Regions from separate parts of the Homo sapiens genome. Here region 1 is linked to region 2. The links are contacts of gene promoters, found by promoter capture Hi-C in blood cells and fetal thymus (Javierre and others, 2016). All regions are on one chromosome and are shown on one strand. The core of a region is centred on a gene start or on the middle of the fragment in contact, and the rest is flanking DNA. Distances in the headings are between cores, read along the strand shown. Region 1 overlaps LOC400499 (putative uncharacterized protein LOC400499). Region 2 holds the start of ZC3H7A (zinc finger CCCH-type containing 7A).

Region 1 (2,960 bases), core at 421-2,920, 390 kb after region 2:
AGTACTATGATACGGAGAAAACGTACTGAAGTGACTGAGAGTGACCAAGGAGCTTATTTAGATTAGGTGGCCAGGAAAGGCCCCACTGAAGAGACGACACATGAGCTAGCGGTGGATGATAAGCACCAGCCATTTGAAAATCCGGGGGAAGGCCGGGCACGGTGGCTCGCGCCTGTAATCCCAGCACTTTGGGAGGCCGAGGCGGGTGGATGACCTGAGGTGAGGAGTTCGAGACCAGCACGGCCAACATGGGGAAACCCCGTCTCTACTAAAAATATGGAATTAGCCAGGCGTGGTGGCACATGCCTATAATCCCAGCTACTTTGGAGGCTGAGGCAGGAGAATTGCTTGAACCCAGGATGTGGAGGTTGCAGTGAGCCGAGATTGCGCCGTTGCACTGCGGCCTGGGTGACAAGAGTGAAACTCCATCTCAAAAGGAAGAAAAGAAAAAAGAAATCTCTGGGGGAGGGGCATTCGAGGCAGGTAAAGAGACTGTGGTATATATACACCATGGAATATTACACAGCCGGAAAAAAGAATGAAATTCTGTCCTTTGCAGCAGCAGGGATGCAATTATCCTAAGTGAACTAGCTCAGAAACAGAAAACCCAGTATCACATGTTCTCACTTGTAAGCAGGAGCTAAACATTGAATACACATGGACATAAAGATGGAAACAGTAAACACTGAGGGCTCCAAAAGGGAGGAGGGTGAGAGGGAGCCAAGGGTTGGAAAATTACCTGCCTGGTATGATGTTCGATATTTGGGTGACAGGGACGCTGGAAGCCCAGTCCCCACCATTACACAATATACCTATGTAACAAACATGCACACTGACCCCCTCAATCTAAAATACATTTTTTAAAAAGAGTATTCCAGGCAGAGGGAACAAGACATGCAAAGGGCCTGGGGCAGGGATGGGTTTGCATGTTTTAGGAATGGCCAAGGAGCCACTGGGCTGGAGCTGGGTGGGTGGGGAATGGTAGGAGGTGGTCTGATCACACAGGGTCAGTCAGGCCACAGGGAGGCGTTTGCATTGTGTTCTATCTGCTACTAGAAGCCTTTGAAGCCATGATCAAATAAATGATGATTTCAGATCCCTCTGGCTGCTGTGTGGGGAGGGACCTACAGGTGGCAGAAGTGAGCAGTGAGGAAGCCCCATAATGGGCAGGGGCAGGGCAATAATAATGCGTGGACCAAGCTGGGGGCAGTAGTGATAGGTTTTAGAGACGTTTAAGAGCAAACTTCCTTCCCCACCCCAGCAGTCCCCCTGCAGTGCCCTCAAGTCACCCTCGGACTGTGGCACCCACCAGCAGGGACGGCGTCCCTCTCCGAACCTTTGCACAGGCTCTTCCATCTGCCTAGAATGCTCTTCCCTGCCTCCTCCCCAAGCTTGCTTCTCTGCGTTCCTTTCTCCCTTGAATGTCTCTTGTGACCATCCTTGTCACCTTATCCCATCATTTTCTGTCCTGTGACTATCTCGACTATCTCCCTGGGAGCCCCTTAAGGGCCAGGACCAGGTCTTGGCTAGCTTTGTACCCAGGCACTCAGCACTGGCTTGGGAGCATGATACCTGCTCGCTACATGATTGAGAAACCGCAATACCAACTGCGTGCCTCCTACAAGCTCCTCTCCACCGTGTAGCCCTGGGCTGAGTGCACCACTTGTATCATCTTGCAAAGGTTGACACTTTCTGGCCTCCATTTTCTAGGAAACTGAGGCTCAGAGAGGTTGAAAAATGCCCAGAGCCACACAGCTTGGCCATGGAATTGAGAAGTGGCTGTTCTGTGCTGTCTCCTGTTGGCCATACTCCCCTCACCTACTCCTCTCCTTTAAATTATCTGCTCATCCTTAGGAAGCATTTGGGTTTTTGATCCCCTGACATATGTCACCATTCAGGAAACTGTAAATGATCCACAAATATTCCCTTTTTCCTCCTCTGCAAGCTTCTCTTCTTTCCCATCCCAGGCAGAAGCATGGGTCGGGTTCCCCCATGACGCCGTCATTCTCTTCCAGCTCAGCGCTCTTCCCAGGGAGCTGTTCCTGCAGACCGCATACGAGCGAGCTCATGGGACCCGTGTCCTGCGCCAGGTGGTGCTGTGGGATGGCCAGGAGGTGGCCCTCACCGGGAGCCTTTCTGGGCCTTTCCCCAAGCCCACCAGGAACCTCAGCCTGCAGGGTGAGTGTGTGAGGGGCTGCAGGCAGGGGTGGCCCAGTCACTCAAGAAATCATCCCTGGCCAGGCGCGGTGGCTCATGCCTGTAATCCAAGCCCTTTGGGAGGCCGAGGTGGGTAGATCACTCGAGGTCAGGAGTTTGAGACCAGCCTGGCCAACATGGTGAAACCCCATCTCTACTAAAAATACAAAAATTAGCCAGGCATGGTGGCAGGCACCTACAATCTCAGCTACTTGGGAGGCTGAGGCAGGAGAATCGCTTGAACCTGGGAGGCAGAGGTTGCAGAGAGCCGAGATTGAGCCAGTGCATTCCAGCCTGAGCGAGAGTGAGACTCGGTCTCAAAAAAGCCATGACTGAGCACCTGCATATCCCAGGTGTAATCTAGGCACCAGGGGTCCATCAGGAAGCAAGATGGCCCAGGTGTCACCCCTCAGGGAGACAGGCATTGAGCAACAAGATGCACATAAGCAAAATAACGTCAAGCATGACCATTTCCACGAGTGGGAAAGGCTGTGAGAGCAAGCAGGGTCTTTGTGGGGTGTGGGCCTCCTTTAGGTGGGGTGGTCTGGGAAGGCCTCTTGGAGGAGGTGACTTCTGAACTGAGTTCTGAAGGATGAGAAGGAGCTGGCAGATCTGAGCAGAGGCACTTCAGGCGGAAGGCCCCACTTGGAAATGAGGTTTGCATGTGGAGCAGCAGCTGCGGGGCTAGCATGGCTGGAATGGGGAGAAGGGATGAGGCGAGGCAGGAGGGCTGGGGGACCCAGGTCATGCAGCGTCTCAGCTCA
Region 2 (3,055 bases), core at 427-2,926:
TCCTGCCTCAGCCTCCCGAGTAGCTGGGATTACATGTGCACGTCGCCATGCCCGGCTAATTTTTTGTATTTTAGTAAAGACGGGGTCTCATTGTGTTGCCCAGGCTGGTCTCCAACTCCTGAGCTCAGGCAATCCATCTGCCTCGGCTTCCCAAAGTGCTAGAATTACAGGCGTGAGCCACTGCGCCTGGCCTAATACGACTATTTGAATACGGCCTTTTAGGTAGTCACTGGGGTTAAATGAAGTCATAGGGTGGGGCCCTAATCTAGTAAAATTGTTGTTCTTGTAAGAAAAAGGAAGACACACCAGGGATTCCTGCTCACAGAGAAAAGGTCATAGGAGGACACAGTGAGAAGGCAGCTGTTTGCAAGCCAGGGAGAGAGGCCTCACCAGAAACCAGCCCTGCCGGCACCCAGACCTTAGATTTGCAGCCTCTAAAACTGTGAGAAAATAAATTCCTGTTGTCTAAGCTGCCTGGTCTGGGGTATTTTGTCATGGCAGCCTGAGCTAATACTCTGGTTTGTAAATCTACGTCACCCAGACCCCTGGAAGAGCTACTGTAGCTAGAGTCCCCACTTCCCCTCTTGTCTCTCCTACAGCCCAATCTCTGCATAGTAGCAGGAGAGAACTTTCTAAAATATAAATGAGACCTCGGAACTCCCAATTCAGACTCAATGAATGACCCCCTTCCACACAAAACTCCAAATTAAACATGGCGGCCCCCCTGTGTCACAGATCTTTCTCCCCTCTGGCACACATCAGCTATGCAGGCCTTTCCTGTTATCCAGACACCGAACTCCAGCTTCAGGGCTTTTGCACTCATTTCCCCTCTGCCTGCGGCACACTTCCCCGAACACGGTTGCATGGCTGTCACCTCCTCAGAGGCTTTCCCAAAAGCTCCTGTCACATCCTCCTGCTTGAATTTCTTTGGTCTTCACCGACCAAAATGGTCTTCTTTGGGCTCTTGTGGGTCCTGATCTCCGCCCTCCATCCCATGGGGCAGGGACCCTGCCTCGCCCACTGCTGAGCTGAGCATTTTACAAGAAGCCGTGCCCGCAGCGGGGCACCTGGCCGTAAAATGCAGATGGACGAGGCGGCATTTGGGCTGGGCCCTGAAGGACAGGGATCCAGGCCTTCCAAGAGCCGGCAGATGGAACTGGAGGGAGGCTGTCTTTGGATCCCCGGCTGCCGTGGGGCTCCGCGCCTCCGTTCCTCATATGTAGGAATGAAGACAATCACGGTTGTTCTGAGGATGCAGGGTTACTCTTCGCAGAGCAGGGCGCCCCGGTTGAGGGCTCGTCAAGCTAAGCAGGCTCCAGGGTGGGCTTCCCGATGCCGACTCTAGCTCCTCTCCCCGCTGGACGCTGTTCTACCTCCTAGCGCTTCTGCTCAGGCCGCGGCCCAGGCGAGGCCCCAGAAAACCCCGGTGCTGGTTAATCAGTCTTGAGTCCGAGCGCGTCCAGTGCGCAACGTGGCCTTCCCATTGGCTCACCCAGTGGGCCGCGCGTCGACGCCGGGGCTCCGGATTGAACGGCGCGCCCAGGTCCCTGCCCCCAGTCAGACGTGGCGCCACCGCCCCCAGCCCGTAGCTCCGGCGCAGCCAATGGCGGCGTCTCCCGGGCGGCAAGCGCGGCCTCCCGCCGCTAGAGGGCGCCGCCGCGGGCGCAACCGAGCCGCTGCCGCCGCCGCTAACCGAGGGAGAGCTGCGAGCGAGCACCCAGGCCCCGCCGCCGCCGCCGCCACCGCTGCCCGCCTGCCGCCGCCCGCCTCCGCCTGCCTTCTGCCGCCGGCCGGCGCGTCGTCCCCACAGGTAGGGGTAGGGGGACGCCGCCGGGCATGAAGGAAACGCGCGCGCCCGCGCCCCCGCCCCCCCCGCGCGCGCCGCCGCCTCGTGCTCGCGCGCGGCCGTTAACGGACGGCGGGCGGGGCGGGGGAGGGGCGGCGGGGTCCGGGGCCCGCGGACCCGAGAGGACCCTGAGAGGAGCCGGGCCGGGGCCTGTGCGCGCGGAGGGACGGGTGGGCGCGCCGTCCCCTTCCCCCACCGAGAATAACGTGACCCACTTCTGCCTGCCATTCCCTCGGCAAAATGTCTCCTTTTTGGTGATTTCACTAAAAAAAAATTTTTTTTTTGGTTATTTCTGTCTGCTCTGGTGATCGCGGGGATCCCGATTCAGCGTCTTGGGCTTGGGGGCGGGAAGGATGCCGGCGGAGAGCTTGGCGCATTAATTTGGGGCTCATCCGTCTTTTTTACCCCCCTTTCTGATTTTTTTATTTTTTCGCGCGGGGTGCAGCCCTGGGCCGGGCGGGGAGAGGCCTTGGGGTCCGCGGAGGCGGGGGCGCCGCCCGGGAGGACCGGGACCGGGACCTGTCAGTTCCCATTAGCGGGGCTTCCGGTCAGGCCTGGGCAGCAAAGGGGTGGGGCCGCCTGAGGCCCGGCCGGGGCCTCCGAGGTCGAGCCTGAGTCGGGACTGGGTGGATTTGCCAGGAGTTGGGTATTTTCCTGTCCCCACCTGTCTAGGGATGAAAAGGAGTTGCCCGTGTTCGGTATTGAACCACGAAGGACCTTGCCATGCCCAGTACGGTGGCCACTGACCCCCCGCCGTTTGGGACGATGGAGCCCACGAAATGGGGCCAGTTTCAGTTGCGGTCCCAGCTGTGAAACGTACATCTGATTTTAAAAACTTCGGATGAGAAAGAAAGTAAAAGATGTCATTGGTAATCTTTTATACTTAAATGCATGTTGAGATGGTCATGTTTGGGACAAATTGGATTAACGAAAATAGATCATTAAAATTAATCTTGGCAGGATGCAGTGGCTCATGCCTGTCATCCCAAAACTTTGGGAGGCTGAGGCAGGAGGATCGTTTGAGTGCAGGAGTTCAAGACCAGCCTCAGCAACATAGTGAGACCCCTGTCTCTACAAAAAATACAAAAAATTAACTGGGCGTGGTGGCGCACGCCGGTAGTCAGCTACTCGGGAAGCTGAGGTGGGAGAATCTGCTACTCGGAAGGCTGGGGTGGGAGAATCCCTTGAGCCCAGGAGATTGAGGCTTCG

What was found. The method cuts DNA at HindIII sites, captures the fragments that hold promoters and counts their contacts. A CHiCAGO score of 5 or more calls a contact.
Region 1: a contact is called between a fragment that was not itself captured here and the fragment with the promoter of ZC3H7A in region 2, in 1 of 17 cell types (neutrophils). The highest score is 5.1, in neutrophils.

The regions. Positions count from the first base shown.
Region 1 is chr16:11,403,922-11,406,881 of GRCh38, reverse strand. It overlaps LOC400499 (putative uncharacterized protein LOC400499), which reads left to right. Exons shown (of 67, transcript NM_001370704.1): 48 at 2,016-2,178. Among named protein-coding and RNA genes, the nearest start is that of RMI2, 60 kb to the right of the region's middle. The HindIII fragment of the contact is 554 bases long and covers 1,394-1,947 here.
Region 2 is chr16:11,795,879-11,798,933 of GRCh38, reverse strand. ZC3H7A (zinc finger CCCH-type containing 7A) reads left to right here and starts at 1,676. Exons shown (of 23, transcript NM_014153.4): 1 at 1,676-1,810. RefSeq lists silencers at 1,393-1,802, 2,285-2,444 and an enhancer at 1,440-1,977. The HindIII fragment of the contact is 5,880 bases long and covers 1-3,055 here.